Regions from separate parts of the Homo sapiens genome. Here all the other regions are linked to region 2. Evidence: promoter capture Hi-C in 16 types of primary human blood cells and fetal thymus (Javierre and others, 2016). All regions are on one chromosome and are shown on one strand. Each heading gives the region's core, a stretch centred on a gene start or on the middle of the fragment in contact. The rest is flanking DNA. Distances are from core to core; before and after follow the strand shown. Region 1 overlaps GABARAPL2 (GABA type A receptor associated protein like 2). Region 2 holds the start of WWOX (WW domain containing oxidoreductase). Region 3 overlaps DYNLRB2-AS1 (DYNLRB2 antisense RNA 1). Region 4 overlaps DYNLRB2-AS1 (DYNLRB2 antisense RNA 1). Region 5 overlaps DYNLRB2-AS1 (DYNLRB2 antisense RNA 1).

Region 1 (2,700 bases), core at 138-2,637, 2.5 Mb before region 2:
TGTCACCCATGGGGCTCTTCTAACCTTCCTTCCCAGGCCTCTGGGCTGTGTCTTCACCAGGGGAGGAAGCCTTGGGCATCCGTGGTTACCCTGGGCTTTCCTTAACGTGTTTGGGGAGGTAATCTTCTTTCATAACATCTGCAACTTCTACAGAGCCTTGGTGACTCTGTGTTTTGTACTTCCTGGAGGTGTTGGCTTAGTGGGAGAAAATAAGTGACTAGGACCTATGGCATTGAGTTTATTTTCCTCAATTCTGATTCTCTGGTTCTTCTCAAAGGAAATGAAGCAGGCTTCTGGAGACCTTAAGATTACTCAGATGGCTCCACAGTAATCTAGCAATTAAAATGGCTACAGGTCTTATCAACTTCCCCTCCCCCGTTATCCCTGAGATAGAAATAGAATTGGAAATGAAAAATGATTTTTCAGGGCAGCAGAGACTGTTTCAAGCCATTTTCTCTCCAAGTCCCATTTGCCTTTCCAGTGTGGTGAGAATCAACCCTAAAGCAGATTACACTGGTAACTCAAGTCAGGATTTTAGGGCCGAGTAGCCAGAAATCCAGCTCCTGACCCTTCAGGATTTAGAGTCACCAGCTAGGGCCCTTTTGCCCAGGCTGTCAGCTCTTTGGCCCCAGTTAATGACTTATCACCCTACACTTAATGCAACTGTTTATTTTGGGGTTTTATTCTCAGAAGTAATTTTTTTTTTGAGACAGAGTCTCACTCTGTTGCCCAGATTGCAGTGCAGTGGTGCAATCTGAGCTCACTACAATCTCTGCCTCCTAGGTTCAAGTGATCCTCTCACCTCAGCCTCCCTAATAACTGGGACAGGACCACAGGTGCATGTCACCACACCGGGCTAAAAATATAAATTTGTTTCTAAACATAAGAGGCGTGTGACATCATTGGGCTTTATGCAATATATAAATCACCCATAAACATAAAAAGTGCTACAGGGTCCTTCCTAAAGCTGGCTGTGATTCAGCTTCACCATCTCTTCCCCAAGACAATTTAGCAGCCTCTTCCTCAGGTCTTTTCAGCTTCCTTAGGGGAGCATGGAGCCTCCCTTAACCTTCATGCAGTGCTTGCTGGCTTCAAAGAGTGGCTGGGGAAATTAGAGAAGGGACGAATTCAGGCCTGCAGGAGCCCTCCCTCTCCGGTGACTGACTGGTCTGCATGAAGATCAATTATGTCTGAGGCTGAAGGGGAGTGAGTTCTCAGTTATTTCTGCCTTGGAGTGGAAAACAGGCGGTCACCATGTAAAGTGTCATGATTTTTATTTAGAGTAGTTAGTATTAAATATTGATTCTATAAATAGAGACAGAGGCAAGTCCCTAAGTTTTACTTCCTAAATTCTAAGTTCTTGTTTCATTTAAAAAAGAGGGAATCACAATGGCCTTTTCCCATTTAGCATTGGAAAGTTGAATTCTCTGCCTAGGTGCCAGCATCAAGAATCAGGCCAAAAACGGAATGGGGAACCATGCCTTTGTTCAGACAGAACTTCAGAAAAAACATCAGTGTACAAGTTTCCTAGTCATGACGTTAGAGGGGAACTCAGACCTGGCAGTGAATGGTCTTTGGTCTTTGTTTGTTTAGAACATAGATAAGAGTCTTGTTAATCCCCTGTTTAAAATAGAAACAGGAGTATATCATTAAATATAATATCTCTAAGATATTATTTTTTATTGTTGTTGAGACAAGGTCTTGCTCTGTCACCCTGGCTGGAGTGCAGTGGCACAGTCATAGCTCACTGCAGCCTTGAACTCCTGGGCTTGAGAAGTCCTCCTACCTCACCAGGTTGGTCTCAAACTCCTGGCTACAGGTGATCCTCCTGCTTTGGCCTCCCAGAGTGCTGGGATTATGGGTGTTACCCACCATGCCTGGCCAGATATTATAACTGACATTGGGAAACCTGTGCTGTTTAAGAATATGGTGTTTATTTGCTTCTGGATCTTAAAGAGATCTTCAGTAAAAGGAAGTTGTGATGTTTTGGAAATGAAAAGTGATTTTCAGGGCAACAGAGACTGCTTCAAGGCCATTTTCTCTCCAAGTCCCATTTGCCTTTCCATTCTGCTGAGAATCCACCCTAAAGCAGATTATACCAGTAACCCAAGTCAGGATTTTAGGACAGAGTAACCAGAAATCCAATTCCTGACCCTTCAGGCCCAATTAATGACTTCTCACCCCACACTTAATCATCCTTTATTTAGAAATGTGCTTAAAGCACTTTGATCATTTCTGGGTAAATACCTCTTTAAGGACAGGACTTTTTTTTTTTTTTTGGAGACGGAGTTTCACTCATGTCGCCCAGGCTAGAGTGCCCAGGCAGTGGCGCGATCTCAGCTCACTGCAACCTCTGCCTCCCAGCTTCAAGCGATTCTCCTGCCTCTGCCCCCTAGTAGCTGGGATTACAGGCGACTGCCACCACGCCCGGCTACTTTTTTTGTATTTTTAGTAGAGACGGGTTTTACCATGTTGGCCAGGCTGGTCTCTTAACTCCTGACCTCAGGTGATTCGCCGACCTTGGCCTCCCAAAGTGCTGGGATTACAGGCGTGAGCCACTGCTCCCGGCCTAGTTGTTCTTTTTATCAGATAAATATGTTCTGTCCTAGGCCGTGTGTGGTGGCGGTCGCCGGTAATCCCAGCTACTCGGGGGCTGAGGCAGGAGAATCGCTTGAAGCTGGGAGGAGGAGGTTGTGGTGA
Region 2 (2,700 bases), core at 1-2,500:
TTTTATTTTCCTTCCTTCCTTCCTTCCTTCCTTCCTTCCTTCCTTCCTTCCTTCCTTCCTTCCTTCCTCCCTCCCTCCCTCCCTCCCTCCCTTTCTTTCCAGATTCTGGACCTATTCCAGACTTACTAAAGGAAATTCTCTAAAGGTGAGGCAGTTTTTTAAAGACAGCAGCTCTCTCTGTCGTCCATGCTGGAGTGCAGTGGCCCGATCATAGCTCACTGCAGCCTCGACTTCTTGGGCTCAAGTGATCCTCCCCCTTCAGCCTCAATGAGTAGCTGGGACTACCGATGTGCACTACCACGCCCGGCAAACTAAAAAAATAATTATTTTTGGTAAAGACAGGGGTCTTGCGATGTTGCCCAGGCTGTTCTCAAACTCCTGGCCTCAAGTGATCCTCCTGCCTCAGCCTCCTAATGTGTTTGGATTACAGGCATGAGCCACTGAGCCCGGCCTAGCTACCCTGTCTGAGTTGTGCCCACTACACAAAGGTGTCAGCTACATGTGATGTCTGTGCATTTCTGGCCTGGACCGCACATTAAGTGCTCCGTAAACATCAGTCTCTATTATCAACAGTCTCTATTATCAATCAGTCTCTATTATCATCAGTCTCTATTATCATGAGTCTCTATTAAACAACAGTCTCTATTATCACAGTCTCTATTATGTGTTTTGGCTGAAAGAAAGTTCTCTAAAACCAGGAAATCAGGAATCAGCAGTTTTAAGTTCTCCAGGTTATATTTTAACATTGTGTTCATATGCAAAACAAAGGTTGTGAATCAGCACGAATGCTGGCAAGCCCTGGAAGGTTTGTGATCACGGACTTTCACGAGACCCCAAGGCAAGGAGAGACAGAAGCCCAGGACAACAGCATGGGCGCCGCTTTTTAGTCGGGCGCCGCTTTTTGGTCAGGCGCCACCTGGACTACATTTCCCATATCCAATTGCCGGGCTCCTGCAGGATTGGCCAGAACAACGCGGAAGTGATTACGGGTCGCCCAGCAACGGGCGGAGTCCTGGCCCGAAACTGGATGCGCACGCCCCTTCCCTGCGGCGGGGAGGCTGACAAGGCTCCGCTCTATCTCTAGCGCCTCGGAGCGCTCTCCGGCTTTGCTGTCTAGCCCGGCGGCAGCGCGATCTCTTAGGCACTTTCACCGCCTTCCTCTCCAGGCCCTGCCCCTTTGACGCCGGCCGTCGCGATATTGCGGAGACTGGATTTCAGCTTCGTGGTCGGCGGAGCGGCCCCTGGAGGGCGCAGTGCGCAGGCGTGAGCGGTCGGGCCCCGACGCGCGCGGGTCTCGTTTGGAGCGGGAGTGAGTTCCTGAGCGAGTGGACCCGGCAGCGGGCGATAGGGGGGCCAGGTGCCTCCACAGTCAGCCATGGCAGCGCTGCGCTACGCGGGGCTGGACGACACGGACAGTGAGGACGAGCTGCCTCCGGGCTGGGAGGAGAGAACCACCAAGGACGGCTGGGTTTACTACGCCAAGTAAGGGGGCCGCAGTGGGGCCGCGGACGCACCTGGGACCCTGCACAGCCCACGGACGCCACCTGCGCGGGGAGGACGCGCACTCCAGCGCAGCGCGTGCGGTGCAAAGTGAAAGTAACTGTTAAGGAGCTTCAGGGAAAAGGGTCCAGGGTTCCCAGTAGGGGCCGGCCCCCTTGGTGGGCCTCGGGTCCAGCGGGGGTCACCTGGTGGCTTCCCGGCGCGCCCTCTGCTGTTCAGGATGCAGCACTGCGCGGCGCGGCGAGGGCAAAGCGGCCTCATCCCCGCCAAAAAATAAAGATGTTTTAAAAAGCGCACATGCTCAGCTCCCTCCTGCAGGCTCTGGGTTGCAGGGATAGGAGTTTTGTTGTGTTTTGTTTTGTTTTGTCCAGACCGGTATTGCTCAGTCATCCAGGCTGGAGTGCAGGGGTGCCATCATAGCCCACTGTAGCCTCTACCTACTGGGTTCAGACAATCCTCTCATCTCAGCCTCTTGAGTGGCTGGGACTACAAGCGTGCACTACTATGCCCGACTAATTTTTTAAGTATTTGTAGAGACTAGGGTCGCACCATGTTGCCCAGGCTGGTCTCGAACTACTGGGCTCAAGCAGGCCACCTGCCTCAGCCTCCAGAATTGAGATTACAGGCGTGAGCCACTGCGCCTAGCCAGGAGTATTTTTTAGTAGCAGTCCTAGATAGCTTCACTATCATTTCCTGGGAAAGTTTTGGAAACCCCAGCAGAGCCTTCATCTTTAACTGTGTGACCTTGGGCCATTGAAATAACGTTTAATCTTGGTTTTTTCACCTGTAAAATGGGTTGATACGAGGGTCAGTTCAGGCACTGTGCGTAAAGCACATAGCACCGTGTCTAGTAGGTACTCTCTGTTCCTTAACTGTCGTTCCTTGATTGCTCTTAAGATACGACAGTGCCTCTTATATCGGCACCTTAGAATCACCTAGGAAATGTCCTAAATACACGTTTTGGGTCTCCATAGAGAACCTACTGTAGCCGACTCTCAACTTTGGGAGTCTCTTTTTTTAAGCTTTCCAGGTGAGGTGGAATATCACCTGGTTTTGAGAAACATGGATGTAAATCTGATTTTCAGCATCTGGGAAACTTTTTTTGTAAGAGCCTTTTTCTGGGCCCCACTTCCAGAGGGTTTTTCTTTTTTTTTTTTCTTTTGAGACGGAGTCTTGCTCTGTCGCCCAGGCTGGAGTGCA
Region 3 (2,700 bases), core at 106-2,605, 2.4 Mb after region 2:
ACCAGGGCCTCTGCCAGGTGAGTCTCGCTGCTGTGGAATGATATCCTGGGATGCAGAGTTGCCAATGTGTACCTATTCATTTGCACTGAGAGAGAGGCACACCTCATGTCAGGACCCTCACAGATCCAAATGGTTTAGGGAAGCAGATTCTGAATCAAACCAAGCTCCTCTGCACAACCAGCCACCACCACTTGGCCATACCTGTAGCTGTGGAGTCAGGACTCTCTTTGGAGTCTTACAAAGGGAGAACAAATTGAATAAAGATTAAGGAGTATGAGCAGTGATAGGGTTTGCCTCTGTGTCTCCGCCCAAATCTCACCTCAAATTGTAATCCCCACTTATCAAGGGAGGGACCTGGTGGGAAGTGATTGGCTCGTGGGGGGCAGTTTCCCCCATGCTGTTCTCATGACACAGAGTGAGTTCTCATGAGATCTGACGGTTTAAAAGTGAGACACTTCTTTATTCTCTCTCTCCTGCCGCCATGTGAATAAGGTGTTTGCTTCCCCTTCACCTTCCACCATGATTGTAAGTTTCCTGAGGCCTCCCCAGCCATGCAGAACTAAGTCAAACCTCTTTCCTTTATAAATTACCCCATCTCAAGTGGTTCTTTATAGCAGTTTGGAAACAGACTAATACAAGCAGTATTCTTGCCCACCCCTAAATGTACAAGTGTCCCAGGGCAGCACTCAGGCACCTGTTTTAAGAACCACCTGACCCATCTCTGCACCCAGCTATGCTGACTTGGGAGGCAGGAACAAGCCCAAATCCTGGCTGGTCCTCATGACTTTGATCCTTCAAAGCTTGCATTTAAGAAAAAAAGAAAGAAAACATGGAAAGGCAGTTAGGTTTCCATTTTCCGTTGTGCCTGATGTAGTGTTCATGCAGCAAGGAACAGACAGTTTAAGGGACCTTGTCCGGTTTCCAAAGAATTCCCAGATGCAAATTTCCCAGGAGCAAGCAAACGTGGTCTTTACTTTCTGTAGCTGCTAACTTATGAAGGAATGCATGCTCTTCAAAAAATATTTTGTAAAGATGTTCTTATTTTTTCCAAAGCCATTGACTTACAACTGGCATCTGTAGGCTACCAAAAGTAATTATAATAAATGAAGAGAAACTAGAGAAATGTTGCACAGGAAAGGGGAAATAAAAAGGAAATTTTATATACACGTACAAATGCATGTAGATGCGTGTATGTACATATGTAAATTCATTTTGTTTTCAAATTTAATGTCAAAACAGCTATAATTGCTCATTCTCCTTGTGTCAGGGGAGGAGGGATCATGTGCTCAGATGTCACCAAATGCTTCTTAAGTTCTCAACTACAAAGGACATTTTCCCTGCTCAATTTCATTATGGGAACATAACTTTACTGTCACCAACCATACAGGGAAAATCAGGTAACAAAAGAAGGAAGGATTGTGTCATTGTTGTTGCTGCTGCCGTATACAAAATATACAGTGATCGCAGAAAACCTCAAAAATATACACTCGTGAGAAAGACAACACAGAATCCTGCCACCCAGATGACTGCTGTTCACATGCTTGGTGTACACCCTTCAAGATTTCCCCCCTGCACCCAGGCACACACCTATACATTATAAACACATATACACATATGTGTGCATGTAGACATTCACATGGGCATAAGTACTATTGTCCCTGACACTTTTTTCTTCAGAATTGTGGCACAGATTGGAGGACCCCTAGGACACAGACAGGGCATCACCACCCACTGATGGTAACTGTGAAATATCTAGAACAGGGGCCCTCACAAGTTTTTCTGTAAAAGGGCAGATGATAATTATTTTACGCTTTGCAGGCCAGAGGGTCACAACTACTCAATGCTGCTATTATACCTGGAAAAGCAACCATCGATAATACGTGAGCAAATAGCTGTGGTTGTGTTCCGATAAAGCTTTATTTACAGAGCAGGAGGCGGGCTGGTGGCCCAAGAATAGTTTGCCACTCCCTGGTTTAGAACATACCATAAACCAAAAAGAGTCAAGAGAGCAGGAGACAGATTGAAGTGCATCCCTCACTGAAGAGCAAATTTCTTTTCCGTGGTCTGTGCTAGTCTCTTGCAGCAACCGTTTCTGCTTTAATGTGCATCCTCTGATACAATAATGACTATAGATAATTAGATTAAGTGAAGTTCACCCTTGTCCCAAAACAAGCTTTTTGAGACAGCAATTTCACTCCCTTTTTCTAGCTCCAGTTTCAGGGAGGGAGCCAGAACAGAAGTCACACTGACATGTCACAGGAATGCAGCAAGGTGAGGCCAGGGTGGCGTTCACTCATGTAAAACACCCTGGATCACACACCATCAGTAAATGATTTATTAAAAGCTACAAGATAAACACCGATAAAGTCTTCAGATACAGAGGCCCATGACATCTGCACAGGATGAGAGAATCAGAATGATTAATAGGGAAGGAGACAGGCTGGAAATACAGAAGACCTGCACCACCTGTGGGGAAGATCCTGGAGAACACATTTCCCACCTGCAAACAGCCTTCCAACCTCAGGCAATAAAATACACCTCTAATAACAAAAGCCATTTTGCACTATTTTCCCCCCTAGGTTTTGAGATGTAGCTCCTAAGTCCTTCATAGTGTTCAGATCCGTACCGACACAGCCTATTCTCAACAGTCACCTGACAGGCAGGGAGACCCTGCTTCTCCCGTTGAATCTTAATGACCAA
Region 4 (2,700 bases), core at 162-2,661, 2.4 Mb after region 2:
GAGTGCAGTGGCGCGATCTCGGCTCACTGCAAGCTCCGCCTCCCTGGTTCATGCCATTCTCCTGCCTCAGCCTCCCGAGTAGCTGGGAATACAGGCACCCACTACCATGCCCGGCTAATTTTTCTGTATTTTTAGTAGAGACGGGGTTTCACCATGTTAGCCAGGATGGTCTCGATCTCCTGACCTCGTGATCTGCCTGCCTCAGCCTCCCAAAGTGCTGGGATTACAGGCGTGAGCCACCGTGCCCGGCCCAGAATTGTATTTTAAAATGAATAATGCCACTTCCAGGTTCATCCCAGAGGCCAAGAAGAGAAATGTGCAAAAATGTCGTTGGTATTTTAGAAATATTGAAAGCTTGGAGACAACCTAGATGTACATGAACAGGGGAAAGGGTAAAGCAGTGGTGTATTAATGAGAGTTCATCAGAGAAACAGAACCAATAGAACCTATATATAGTGTGTATATATGTACACACAAAATATATGTGTGTGTGTGTATATATAGATATACATATACAGTATATATTTATATTTGTATATATACAATATGCATATATATATATATATATATATATATATATATAGTGTGTGTGTGTGTATAGGGTGGGAAGTATTTATTATAAGGAATTGGTTCATGCAATTATAGACACTGACAAGTCCCAAGATCTGCAGTTATCACACTAGAGGACCAGGAAAGCCAAGGGTTTAGTTCCAGTCCCAGTCCTAAGGCCTAAGAACGAGGAGCTGATAGCGTATTTCCAGTCCAAACATCAGCAGGCTCAAAACCCAATGTTTCAGTTCAAGAGCCCAGGCTTCCGTTCAAGCCAAAGGCAGGAAAACACTGATGTCCCAGCTTCATGCAGTCAGGCAGGAGGACATTTTCTCAGCTATTTTGTTCTATTCAGGCCTTCAACTGATTGGATGAGGCCCACCCACATTGGGGCAACCTGCTTTACTCAGTCTATCAATGTAAATGTTCAACTCATCCAAAAACACCCTCCCGGAAGCATCCAGAATAATGCTGACCAAATGTCAAACCCCGTGGCCCAATTAAGTTGACACATACAATTAACCATCACAAATGGATTCATTCATGCAGAGGAAGACCATGCAGCCATTTTTTTAATGCAATAAATGCATATATTCTGATCCAGGAGAATGTCCACAATGTGTTATCTGTTTAAAACAAATGTCAACTTGCAGAAGAGTATGTATACTATGGTCCCACACGCATAAAAGAGAAAGTAAACTATATGAAACAACATATACATATGCACTTTTAAAGAATGTGTGTATAAACACAGAAAAATTCTAGAAGGATACACAGCAGACTCAGTGGTTTTCTATCCCCTCCTCCTCCCACACAGAGTACGGGGTATGTGTGCCTTACTGGAGACTTTCGTTTTTTATGTAAATCACTGAAATGTGCTAGGTGCTTGCTAAATGCTCAGCACCAGGCTAGCAAGCTACATGCACACTGTCAATTAATACGCATCACAATCCCATAAAAATGCTTCCTCTGTCTTACAGGGGACACAGAACTAAGGCCTAGGGAGGGTGAATAACTGTCTCAAGTTCACTAGCTTAGGATACCACGGAGCCACTCCTCCATGACAGGTCTGTCTGACCCATGACAGAGTACTGCCCATAATGTACTGTCTCTACAAAGAGACAGTTTTCATGTTAAAAATAAATATGTTCATTATATATTTTATTCTTTAACATAGAATATATATGTATGTATATATGTTTATAGTTGATGTACCTATATTACCCCTATTTTTTTTTAAGATACATTTTCTTTTTTTTTTTTTTTTTTTTTTAGAGTCAGAGTCTCATTCTGTCACCCAGGCTGGAGCACGGTGGCGCGATCTCGGCTCCCTGCAACCTCCGCCTCCTGAGCTCAAGCGATTCTCCTGCCTCAGCCTCCCGAGTAGCTGAGATTACAGGCATGCACCACAATGCCTGGCTAATTTTTGTATTTTTAGTAGAGATGGGGTTTCACCACATTGGCCAAGCTGGTCTCAAACTCCCATCCTCAGATGATCCACCCGCCTCAGCCTCCCAAAGTGCTGGGATTACAGGCGTGAGCCACTGCGCCCAGCCAAAAGAATACATTTTCATACTTACTCCAAAACAATAAAAATAGATAAGATCTGGGAAAGGAGAAAGCAAAAGCAAATTAACTCGGGGGAAATTTTTTTTAACTGTTTTATTTTGCGTCTCCCCAGAAGCAGAGCCTAAGTACAAGGACTTAGATGCATGATTTGCTTGTTTGGGAGATGATCCAGAGAAGGAGGAAAAGCCGAGATAAGGAAACACACAGGCTCACTGCTGCAGACACCAGGGTTTGATTCTTCTGGGATCTCTGAACAGTAGGTAAAGGAGGAAAAGCTGGGTACTTTTCCACTGGCTTCCATCCCGCCTTTGTGAAGGGTTAGCCCCAGGGGGGTTAACTCCCCAGGAGAGAAAGCTTGATGTGGGATTCTGTCATTTGAGGTGTGTCTCACCTGAAGTTGAAAGAGAATTAGATCAAGGAGATGCAAGACAAGGAGCCAAAGAACTCTGTTACATATACCACTTAAAAAATCACCTGAAGGATCGCTTGAACCCAGGAGTTCAAGGCTGCAGTGAGCCGTGATTTTGCCACTACACTCCAGCCTGGGCAACAGAGTGAGACCCTGTCTTAAAAGAAAAAGAA
Region 5 (2,700 bases), core at 104-2,603, 2.4 Mb after region 2:
ATCTGGGTGGGCACAATCTAATCAGCTGCCAATGTCACCAGAATAAAAGCAAGCAGAAGAACGTCGAAAGACAAGACTGGTTTAGTCTTCTGGCCTACATCTTTCTCCCATGCTGGATGCTTCCTGCCCTCGAACTTCAGACTCTAGTTCTTCAGCTTTGGGACTCCAACTGGCTGCCTTACTCCTCAGCTTGCAGACGGCCTATTGTGGGACCTCAACTTGGGATGATGTGACTCAATACTCCTTAATTAACTCCCCTTTATATATACATCTAACCTATTAGTTCTGTCCCTCTAGAGAACCCTGACTAATACAGGGAACTTTTAAATATGAACTCAATTTATTTTGCTTTTCTTTTCCAAGTTTCTTGAAGTGAGAGTTCAGATTAAGACTTTTCATATTTTCTAATGAGAGCACGTATAATTTTTCCCTCTAACTGCTTTAGTTGGGTTCCACAAATTTGATACATCTTATTTCATTGTCTTTCAGTTCACTGTATTTAAAAAATTTCTCTTGAGACTGCCTCTTTCAACTAGAATTATTTAGAAATGTGTTGGTTAGTTTTCAGGTGTTTGCAGATATTCCTATTATCTTTCTGTTATTGATTTCTATCTTGAATCCACTGTAGTCTGAGAACACACTCTGTATAATTTCCATTCTTTTAAATTTGTTAAGGTTTGTCTTACAGTCCAGGATGTGGCCTATCTTGTTGTATATGTTCTTTGGGCACTTGAAAAGGATACGTCTTCTACTGACGTTGGTGGGAGTGTTCTATAAATGTCAATTAAATTCTGTTGGTTGATGATATTAGTTCTCTATCCTTGGTGATTTTTCTGTCTGGTTTTTCTATCAATTGTTGACAGAGGGATGTTGAATTCAACTATCATTGAGGAAGTGTCTGTTTCTTCTTTCAACTCTATCACCTTTTGCTTTAAATATTTTGCAGCTCTATCGTTTTGTGCATACATTTTAATTTTTAGGTTTGCTATGTCTTCTTGGTGGACTGATCATCTTATCAATGTATAATGGTTCTCTCTGTCTCTGGTAATTTTCTTTCCTCTGAAGTCTATTTATCTGGTATTTATGTAGTCACTCACTTTCTTTGGATTAATGTTTACACAACATTTTTTTCATCTTGTTATTTTCTGCCTGCCAATATTATTATATTTTTAAATGAGTTTCATGTAGATGATATATAGTTCAGTCATGCTTGTTCTAATGCTCTCTGATGACCTCTGTCTTTGTATTGGTGTATTTAGACTATTTATACTTAATGTTATTGTTAACAGGCTAGGGTGTGGTGGAAGTGGCAGAATGGGTTCCCACATTATCTTTACTGAAGCTGCTGGGGGAGAGGGCAACTAGTTAACACCCAACAGGGACGAAAGTCCCAACTCCCTACTCATTCTTCTCTGGCAATACTATCACAGAGGATGGAGGGAATGATGGCAATATGAGAGTGGAAATCTATATTCTCCTCTTGGGCTTTGATGGTTTTTTTCTGTGGTGTTTGGCTGGAGTCGAGTGGTTGTTTTCTGAGAGTTTCCATCTTTTTAGGCTGGATGTTTGTTGATCCTTTGGGTAGAAAAGGTAGGCTTTCATTGGGACTTTTAAAATCTTTCTGTGCCTGTTGACATTTCTGGTCTGCCAGCTCCTTGTGCAAGATATCCTAGTCTAGGATATATGTGACAAAAAGAAATCTCAAGTAACTTATGAGCGTGTCATTCCTTGGATCCCAAGGTCCCTAGCCAATCTGTCTGGTTATCTCAATCTCTTCTGTTTGTATATATAATCTTCAGAGTTATTAGGTATAATTAGGGGAAACAATAGGCAGAAGCATGTCTACTTCATCTTTACAGAAACAGAAATCACTGATCATTTTTGGTTTCTTAATTCATGCTGACAATCTCTATCTTTTAATGAGTCTGCTTATGTGATATATATGTAATTATTGATGTATCAGGATTTGATTGTTCCATCTATTTACCATTCTACTGTTTGCCCTTTTCCCTTTTGGGTTGCCCAAACAATTTTTCATATGATAATTTATCTACTTCACCTTTTTACTGTATCAGTTTGTAATTTTTCTTATTGATTGCCCAAGAGATTATATAGCTCATTTGTCACAATCTACTTAAAACCAATACCTGACCACTTCAATTGAAATGTAGGAAACTTACCCTTAGATTAGTCTCTTTACCCTCCCTTTACTTGTAGTTACCTTACATATTACATTTACATTCTTTCAAAACCCCCAAAAATGCTATAACCTTTTTCAACCATCAAACACATTTTAGAGAATTCAAGCGAGTAACAGTCTATTACAGGATTCAGCAAACTTTTTCTGCTAAGGGCCAGATAATAAATATTTTAGGCTTTGCAGACCATACAGTGTCTGTCACAACTATTCAACTCTGTGCTTATAGAACGAAAACAGCCAAAACAACACATAGCCAAATGAGCATAACTGTGTTCCAATTAAATTATATTAATCAAAATAGATGGTGAGCTGAATTTGGTACATGGGCTATAGTTTGCTGACCGCTAGTGTATTATACTTACATTTTTAGTTTCTTCTTCCTTCATTTCTAATGTTGTATGTTTCCCTCTCATATCATTTCACTTCTGTCTTAAGAACTTCATTTAATGTTTTTTTAAGTGCATGTTTGCTGGCACTAAATTTCCTTCATCTAAGAATGT

What was found. The method cuts DNA at HindIII sites, captures the fragments that hold promoters and counts their contacts. A CHiCAGO score of 5 or more calls a contact.
Region 1: a fragment that was not itself captured here is called in contact with the fragment with the promoter of WWOX in region 2 in 1 of 17 cell types (naive CD8 T cells); the score reaches 5.0 in naive CD8 T cells.
Region 3: a fragment that was not itself captured here is called in contact with the fragment with the promoter of WWOX in region 2 in 6 of 17 cell types (endothelial precursors, naive B cells, total B cells and 3 more); the score reaches 8.2 in endothelial precursors.
Region 4: a fragment that was not itself captured here is called in contact with the fragment with the promoter of WWOX in region 2 in 6 of 17 cell types (total CD4 T cells, naive CD8 T cells, activated CD4 T cells and 3 more); the score reaches 10.0 in total CD4 T cells.
Region 5: a fragment that was not itself captured here is called in contact with the fragment with the promoter of WWOX in region 2 in 13 of 17 cell types (activated CD4 T cells, non-activated CD4 T cells, total B cells and 10 more); the score reaches 42.8 in activated CD4 T cells.

What each region holds. Positions count from the first base shown.
Region 1 is chr16:75,569,408-75,572,107 of GRCh38, forward strand. The region is part of intron 3 of GABARAPL2 (GABA type A receptor associated protein like 2); the gene reads left to right. Among named protein-coding and RNA genes, the nearest start is that of GABARAPL2, 4.4 kb to the left of the region's middle. RefSeq lists an enhancer at 1-87. The HindIII fragment of the contact is 6,021 bases long and covers 1-2,700 here.
Region 2 is chr16:78,098,404-78,101,103 of GRCh38, forward strand. It overlaps WWOX (WW domain containing oxidoreductase), which reads left to right and starts at 1,251. Exons shown (of 9, transcript NM_016373.4): 1 at 1,251-1,482. The coding sequence starts at 1,376. RefSeq lists an enhancer at 1,485-1,984. The HindIII fragment of the contact is 3,217 bases long and covers 1-2,520 here.
Region 3 is chr16:80,461,186-80,463,885 of GRCh38, forward strand. The region is part of intron 2 of DYNLRB2-AS1 (DYNLRB2 antisense RNA 1); the gene reads right to left. Among named protein-coding and RNA genes, the nearest start is that of DYNLRB2, 78 kb to the right of the region's middle. The HindIII fragment of the contact is 1,114 bases long and covers 799-1,912 here.
Region 4 is chr16:80,511,097-80,513,796 of GRCh38, forward strand. All of the region lies in intron 2 of DYNLRB2-AS1 (DYNLRB2 antisense RNA 1), which reads right to left. Among named protein-coding and RNA genes, the nearest start is that of DYNLRB2, 29 kb to the right of the region's middle. The HindIII fragment of the contact is 2,118 bases long and covers 353-2,470 here.
Region 5 is chr16:80,531,175-80,533,874 of GRCh38, forward strand. All of the region lies in intron 1 of DYNLRB2-AS1 (DYNLRB2 antisense RNA 1), which reads right to left. Among named protein-coding and RNA genes, the nearest start is that of DYNLRB2, 8.5 kb to the right of the region's middle. The HindIII fragment of the contact is 6,624 bases long and covers 1-2,700 here.